2 separate regions of the Homo sapiens genome follow, and region 1 is linked to region 2. Evidence: promoter capture Hi-C in 16 types of primary human blood cells and fetal thymus (Javierre and others, 2016). All regions are on one chromosome and are shown on one strand. Each heading gives the region's core, a stretch centred on a gene start or on the middle of the fragment in contact. The rest is flanking DNA. Distances are from core to core; before and after follow the strand shown. Region 1 overlaps LOXHD1 (lipoxygenase homology PLAT domains 1). Region 2 holds the start of LOXHD1 (lipoxygenase homology PLAT domains 1).

Region 1 (3,998 bases), core at 1,006-3,505, 100 kb after region 2:
GGCAGTACCTCTTCAGTAACACTGATACTTTGTGGAGGGGTTATGAGAGAATTGCAGGCAGGGCCCCAGCACCTAGAGCCCATGGGCCAGCTGACCCACAGGAACAAACAGAGAATGGCGTTGAGTGGCAGATGCTGAGGCACTTGGTAGGGATGCGGGGGTTCAAGAGGAAGTCCTCGCCGCAAGATGGTGTCTTGGGGGAAAACTAGGGGGAGGGAGCAACTTAAACTGGGCCTTGGCAGGTGAGTATGGTGTAGACATATAAAGGCAACAGTGGAAGATGTTCTCAGAAGATGGAACCACATGAGCAAAGATATGGAGGTGGAAATGGGGGAGGCCAGTTTAGGACAGTGTGTCTTCCAGCTGAGCTGTGGTCGGTGCTAAGCCCCAGTGGATAAGCTTGGATAAGAACAATTTAGGGTGTGGGGTGGGTGGGGTCATGAGAGGCTTAAGAGACAAGCTGAGAAGCCAGAACTGTATCCTAATGCAGTGGGAATCCATGAAAAGAAATACACATACCTTACTCTTCCAGGTGTAGTGGGAAAGTCATGAAAAATAAAGCCGTCATCTTTGCCCTTCAAGATTTTATAATATCCCCTGGCTAGAAAACTATCTCTTATCTCACCCTTCCCATTCCTGCCTCTACCCGAAAGCCAAATTCTCTCATTAACACAGATTTTTTAAAAATGAACTAAATTAATTAACATATTTCTGGGCTCATTTCTTGATTTATTTCAGGGGCCCCCTGCTTTTTCTTTAAAGAATCTTCCCCTTGACTTGAGGATGTAGTTTATTTCTGCGTTTCAGTGTTCTCCTTTAAAAATTATAGCCACATATTTCTGGATTAGGAAAAAATTTCTATAGAGGACTACATAACTTGTGCAACTGGTAAAATTTGAACATGGACTGTATATTATATAATAGCATTATGTTGATGTTAAGTTTTCTGAATTGGATCATTCTAGTGTGATTATATGAGAATATCCTTGTTCTTGGGAAATCCATGTTGAAGAATTTAGGGATGAAGAATCATGGTATCTGCCACTTACTTTCAAATGATTTAGAAAAACATACAGCAAGAGAGAGAGTGCAAGAGAGATGACAGAGTGAGAAAGCAAATGTTACAAATAAGTGCAGAATCTAAATGAAGGCATATGAACTTTCATCATACTATTTCTGAAAGTTTTCTGTAGATTTAAAATCTTTTTCAAAATTAAGAGTCAAAAAAGTTATATCCAAGAAGGCCCCATTTACTTATAGGTTCCTGGTGTGGTCTGCTTCCTCCCGTGCATGGAGCAGTGTGTGCATTCACATGGTGTGATCCATATGGCCCTCTTCACACCTAAATGGTGGGCAAATCCGTCTTCAGTTTCTGACAGTCACTTTGGATTTGCACAGCACCAGCTCATAGCAGGTACTTAATACAAATATGTGATTGAAGCAGATTATGCACACACCTGCACACATTGCAGAGGGTTTCAGTGCACCCCCCTCTCTTGCACACAAAACACCCACCACAGATGTGGGCATCCAGCAAACCTATCTTCTCTTCTGCCTCTCAAGGTCACCTTCACTCTTCCTCTCCTCCTTCCACCTTCCTGGACATGAGAGTGAGAAGATCTCCTGGCAGGGACAAGTTAGGGAAACAATTGTGCAGACCAAACACCAGACTACTAAGTGACATTCTCCATCATCCCCACTCCTGGTTGCTTTGGGTCTCACCATTGGCCTCTGGCTGGCTGCCCTGGTTCTTGGGAGGATGGGGCTGATGGCCATGTGGGGAGGGGTAGGTCTTACCCCACTGAGTGTTCCCTGGCCCTTCCCAGACAGACACCTTCACCATCTATGCCATTGACCTGGGGGCCCTGACCAAGATTCGGATTCGCCACGACAACACAGGCAACAGAGCAGGCTGGTTCCTGGACAGAATAGACATTACTGACATGAACAACGAGATCACGTGAGTGTGGGGGCAGTGGGCAGGGAGGGGTGTTGCTCTGAGGGAGGCCATGTCTGCCACAGAGGTAGTCCTGGAAGAAGACTGGGGGTGGGCCGGCTGTGACGGTGGAGGGTGAGGGTGGGCTGGGTGACACCTAAGGGTGAGGTGTACTGGCCGTGACATCCAAAAGTAAGGGTGGACTGGGGTGCACTGAGAATGAGGGTGGGCGGGTATGAGGGTAAGGGCGGGCTGGGGGTGATGTCTGAGGCTGAGGGTGAGCTGGGTTATGTCTGAGGGTGCAGGTGGGCTGGGTGTGACATTGGAGGGTGAGGGTGGACTGGCTGTGACGTCGAAAAGTAAGGGTGGACTGGGTGACATCTGAAAATGAGAGTGGGTGAGTATGAGGGTGAGGGTGGGCTGGTGGTGATGTCTGAGGCTGAGGGTGAGCTGGATGACATTGGAGGGTGAGGGTGGGCTGGCTGTGACACTGGAAGGTCAGAGTGGCTGTGACGTCACAGGGTGAGGGTGGACTGGGTGACATCTGAGAATGAGGGTGGGTGTGTGTGAGGGTGAGGGTGGGCTGGCTGTGATGTCTGAGACTGAGGGTGGGCTGGGTGACGTTGGAGGATGAGAGTGGGCTGGCTGTGACACTGGAGGATGAGGGCGAGCTGGCTGTGACATCCGAGGGTGAGGGTGGACTGGATGACATCTGAGAATGAGGGTGGGCAGGTATGAGGATGAGGGTGGGCTGGTTGTGATGTCTGAGGCTGAGAGTGGGCTGCGTGACATCTGAGGGTGAGGGTGGGCTGGCTGTGTTGCCTGTCATGGCCACCAGAGCAGGTTTGCCCACGTTGCAGGCTGGATGGGCATTGCCTCTCTCCCTCTTCTCTCATTGGCAGCCCCTAGTGTCACCTGCCCTGTGAGATGACAGTCCAATAGATCCCCCAGACCAGCAACTCTTGAGGTCCATCTGTTTAGAGAGACAGGATTTCCAATCCCTGTCAGACCTTCCTTGGTCCAGTTTCCATGCCTAGGCATAGCTCACCCATAAGCCTCTCAACGTATAAAGCAACTTCTAGTACATTCTTTTAATATTCTATACCAGGGATCAGCAAACATTTTGTGTAAAGACCAGATAGTAAATATTTTAGGTTTTGCAAGCATTTGGTCTCTGGAACAACAGCTTTGCTGGTGTAACACAAAAGCAGTCATAGATGATGCCTAAATGATTGGGCATGGCTGTGTCATTTTGACATGTGAAAATTATATGAATTTCAAATTTCAGTGTTGGACACTGAAATTTGAAATTCATATAATTTTCACATGTCAAAAAATATTATCCTTCCTTAGATTTTTCCTCCAGCCATTTAAAAATGTGAATCCATGCATAGCTTATGGATGTCCGCAAGCAGGGTAGGCCCGATTGGGCCTGAAGGCCGTAATTTGCTGACCCCTGGTGGAGGCTCACAGCTGCCACATGAGTTGGGCTGGGAAGAGAGTGTTATGTCTTCCCATAGGTCCACACCCCAGGGAGGTGAAGCCACAGCCCCATAATCAGTCAGTGCCACAGCTAGGACCAGAACTCCAGACTGTCTATGTTGAATTGAACGTGTTTTCATTAGGCCTCATTGCCCCTTGGGTGTAAGGGGCCCAAGGGCAAGAGAAAGGAGAGAAGTCCCCTTGTATGAGTGGAGTGGGACAGAGAAGAAAGCATGAGTGATCCTGAGTGGGCTTTGGGGCTGCTGAGGGCCTGCCAGTGCCTAGAATGTAATGGGCACCCTATCAACAAATATTTGTTGAATTAAATCAACTTTCCAGCCCATAGACTTGTTGGGCTCCCCTCTGTGCAGGGCAGGAGGTGACAGGGTTCTCCCATCTCCCACCCCACCCTCCCCTACCAGCCCGAGGGAACACTGAACCACAGCTCACAGACAGCCCATTGTCATGGTTTTCTGTGAGGTCATTGTGAAACCACATAAAGACCGTAGGACAGCCCCATGGCTGGGAACCAGGGTCCTGACCTGGAGTCTGACCTCTGCCAGAAACTCATCAGGTCACC
Region 2 (4,189 bases), core at 1,481-3,980:
CACAGGTGTGAGCCACTGCACCCATCAGGCCTGTTTTCTGATCCTATAGTTTTACCTTTTAGAGAATGTTACATCAATGTAATCACACAGCATGTATTTTTTCTGACCGCTTTTCTGCACTTAGCGTAGTGCTTTCCAGAGGCATCCATGTTGTAGCATGTTTCCCGACTCCCTTCCTTTCTATTGTTGAGTATTATTGCCTGTACAGATGTACCTCAGTTTGTTTACCCACTGGCCAGGTGATGAATGCCTGAGTTGTGTCCAGTTTTTGGTTATGAATAAAGCTTCTATGAATATTTACATACAGATCTTGTGTGGATATCCTTTTTCATTTATCTTAGGTAAATACCAAGGAGTGGAATTTCTGGGTTGCATGGGAAGTATTTGCTTTGCTTTATTTTCCAAAGTGGCTGCACCATTTTACACTCCAACTAGCAGTATGAGAGTTCTGGCTGCTCATGTCCCTATGAACTCTTGGTATTTGTGAGGGTTAATTTTTGGTGTCAACATGACTGGTTGTGCCCTCAATGTGGGTGGGCACCATGCAATCGGCTGGGGGCCCCGACAGAACAAAGAGGCAAAGGAAAGGTGAATGTTTTATCTCTCTCCTGGAGCTGGGACACCCTTCTTCTCCTGTCCTTGGGCATCAGAACTCTAGGTTCTCCAGTCTTTGGACTCTGGGACTTGCTCCATCACCCGCTCACCACCAGGTTCTCAGGTTTTGGGCCTGAGACTGAGAATTACACCACGGGTTTCCCAGGTTCCCAGGCCTTCAGACTTGGACCCACCACACTACCAGCCTTCCTACGTCTCCAACGTGCAGACTGCCTGTTGTGGGACTTCTCGGCATCCATAATCCCATGAGTCAACGCCCCTAGTAAGCCTCCTGTCATATATCTACTGATCTGTATATCCTAGTGGTTCTGTCTGTCTGGAGAACCTTGAAATAATACAGAAATAATATAGAATTATTTCCCTGACCTCCTAGCCAGTGTGTTCCAGTACCATGGGATTCTCTAAAAATATTTTGATTTCAGCTTTTAAAGTTCTAAGAAACAGCCGGGCGCGGTGGCTCACGCCTGTAATCCCAGCACTTTGTGAGACCGAGGTGGGCAGATCTCGAGGTCAGGAGTTCGAGACCAGCCTGACTAACATGGTGAAACCCTGTCTCTACTAAAAATACAAAAATTAGCTGGGCATGGTGGCGTATGCCTGTAATCCCAGCTACTCGGGAGGCTGAGGCAGGAGAATCACTTGAACCCGGGAGGCGGAGGTTGCAGTGAGCCGAGATCACACCACTGCACTCCAGCCTGGGCGACAGAGGGAGACTCCGTCTCAAAAAAAATTCTAAGAAACGTTTTATTATCTTTTCCCTGAATGGGTACTCGTGTAAAATGAGTTTTCTTAGTAGATTCCTAGAGATCCTTAAGGAAGGTCTCTTCCTGAAGAATCCAGGTGTGTAAACCACATATTGCCAGAAGGGGGCGCGCGCCACCCACCATTAAACTTCACTCCTGGTCCTCAGAGGACTTTGAGCTGCTTCAAGGGCGGCCCCTCAGCTGAATAGGGGAAGAGGGGAGGTTGATCTTTCCTGGGTAGGAACGTTCGGGGTTAGAGATGCCTCCCCCTAGTGGAAGATTTGGATGGCTCCAAAGAGCAGGGCAGGACCAAAGCTGCCCCAGGCTGCCGGGGAGGCCTGTGAGTGCCGACTGCTCCTCAGGCGTCCGCTCCAAATCCTCTCTTCCTCTCCACCTGAAATTCCCCTTTAGAGTCACTATTTTGGCTTAGAGGACAAAATCACACGTGTTGCTTCTAGAGGACTCCTGTTAGCACACCTAAGTTACCTGAGAAGCGATTCAGGGACCCTCAACATGGCTGCACATGAAAGTCACCAGGAGCTTTAAAAACTGGGGCCCAAGCTGCGTCCCAAACCAAGCAAATCAGAATCCTTGGGGATGGGACCCACGCATTAGCGTTCAACACCTCTCTGGGGGCTTCTGGTGTGCAGCCCGGGCTGTGCGCCCTGGGGTAGGAGCTTGCTGATGCCCTCCCGTGAGTCCAGGTGGTGAGCTGATCTAGTTAGTGAGTTCACCTGGGAGGGCATCGGCTACGATGATGTTTAAACTTTAGTGCATATAAAGCTCACCTGGCAGGGGGAGCGGGGAGAGTTTTCTGGTGCCCTAGCTTTCCTCGTGCCCAGAGGCCACTTCCGGAAGCCCGCAGTCTTGATGAGATGGAAGCAGAGAGAGAGAACGAGAAGGATCCAGCGAGAACCCCGCCTGCTCCGTAAGACGATCAGAGGTCATGAATAATGGAGAGAAACGGGGGCCTTTGAGTCCTGGGAGCCTGGCTGATTCCGGGGCCCCGCCTTCCTCAGGAGGGTCCCGTGTGGGCTGTAAGGCTTGGGAGATCTCCTGGGTGAGGAGCCCTCACCTGTCCCTGGGGTGGCCTGGAGGGATCCCAGGTGACCCCCTGGCTGTGAGGCCAGGTGGGAAATGGACTTCAAGGGCTCCGTGTCACCTGATTCTCCATAGGGAGGAGAGAGGGCTGGTGGGGAGGGGAGAGAGGAAGGAAGTCAGCCTGCCCTCAGCGCCATGAATAAGTGATGAGGCCCAAAGAGAAGCCCCGGGGCAGGTACAGAGGAGGAGGAGGTGGCTCACCAGAGGGTGGTGGGAGGGGACAGGGACAGGAGGTTCAGAGATAAGGCACTGAGGTTCAGCTCAGGAGCCAGAGAAGGCAGAGGGAACAGCACCTTGGGCACGGGGAAGCCAAGAAAACGGGGCACTCTGGCCCACCCAGGCCTGAGCTATAGGAGGGCCGTGGGCGCCAGAGCTCAGGGAGGAGGTCTCAGGTTCCCGCAGGTGTGAGGAGGCGGCACAGTGAGCCTGCGAGCGCTGGGAGAAGGCAGCCGACAGAATGATGCCCCAGAAGAAAAGGCGGAGGAAGAAGGACATCGACTTCCTGGCCCTGTACGAAGCGGAGCTGCTGAACTACGCCTCGGAGGACGACGAGGGGGAGCTGGAACACGAGTACTACAAGGCCAGAGGTGCGGGGTCCCAGCCTGCGGGGGGCGGGTGGTGCAGCTGGCTGCGGTGGGCAGGGGTCTGTTCCTGTCTATGGGGAGTCATTCTAAGATTTCGGAGCAAGCCCTTCCTCACTGATTATCCCATGTGTCTGTTCCATATCCCCTCGGAGTAAGAAGGCAGGCATTATGCAGGGATGGTGGGGTCCCTGTTGTACAGACAGGTGGAGCAACTTGCCTTTAGCCCCCGATTCTCAGTGGAACAGAATAGACTAGAGCCACAGTGCCCCCATGGCCCCATGTTCTCCAGCTCCTGAACATCCCCAAAGCCACGTTCCAGTCTGGTCCCCGAGTAGGTGGTCTGCATCAGGCAGAGCGCCCTGAACTGCTGGGGTCATGAAAGGATGTCTTGGGGAGGAAGCCTGACAGCTCATCCTATGCCCACTGTGGTTGATGGAGACAGGGAGCCTGGGGCTTTGCAAGGAGATGTCCATCCCATATGTCGAAGGCGGCCGGTGCTCTGGACCCCAGGGCCTTGTCCTTCTAGTCTCATCTTTCCCTGGGCCACATGAGACCTGCTTGAAATTGCTCTAACTCCTTGCCAGGTAAACCAAAGAAGTGAACTGTGACCCTAGAGCTGGTTTTGGCCAGCAGAGTTTAAGTTGTTTTTTTCCTTTCCAGCGTTTTGAAATCCTTTTTTCTGTGAATGCCAATAGGCTGTGGACGTCCAGCTTATCACAGTCTCCACCACTCCCTGTCATCTCATACTAGGTCTGGTTTACTCATCAGTGCTGCCTGCCTAGTCTCTGAAGCCATTTAAATTCTCAATGCTGACTCCAAAGTGGCTCACCAGTCCCCGTAAGCGCCATAGTCATCCATGCATTCACTCATTCATTCATTCAGCAAGTATTTATTGAATGTGTGCTCTGTGCCTGCCCATGGCCTTGTTTGTCTTCCCCTTTCTCCCTCTTCCTGTCCTCACTCTGAAAGCCCAGTTCTGATCCCATCTCTTCCATGAAGCCCTCCTTGATTCCAGTCCACCATGAGTTCCCTGATTACATCCAATTCATAATTGTTCCATTGTTTCCTGCAAAGCTTGTCCAGCTGTGTCCGGCTTGCAGCCACAGTCACCCTAAACTCCGTGAGGGTGGGGCCTTGCTGTACTTG

Evidence for each region. The method cuts DNA at HindIII sites, captures the fragments that hold promoters and counts their contacts. A CHiCAGO score of 5 or more calls a contact.
Region 1: a contact is called between a fragment that was not itself captured here and the fragment with the promoter of LOXHD1 in region 2, in 2 of 17 cell types (megakaryocytes and M2 macrophages). The highest score is 6.5, in megakaryocytes.

The regions. Positions count from the first base shown.
Region 1 is chr18:46,555,318-46,559,315 of GRCh38, reverse strand. It overlaps LOXHD1 (lipoxygenase homology PLAT domains 1), which reads left to right. Exons shown (of 41, transcript NM_001384474.1): 21 at 1,827-1,960. Among named protein-coding and RNA genes, the nearest start is that of LOXHD1, 100 kb to the left of the region's middle. The HindIII fragment of the contact is 3,708 bases long and covers 402-3,998 here.
Region 2 is chr18:46,655,761-46,659,949 of GRCh38, reverse strand. It overlaps LOXHD1 (lipoxygenase homology PLAT domains 1), which reads left to right and starts at 2,730. Exons shown (of 41, transcript NM_001384474.1): 1 at 2,730-3,046. The coding sequence starts at 2,917. RefSeq lists enhancers at 1,673-1,722, 1,533-2,482. The HindIII fragment of the contact is 3,833 bases long and covers 287-4,119 here.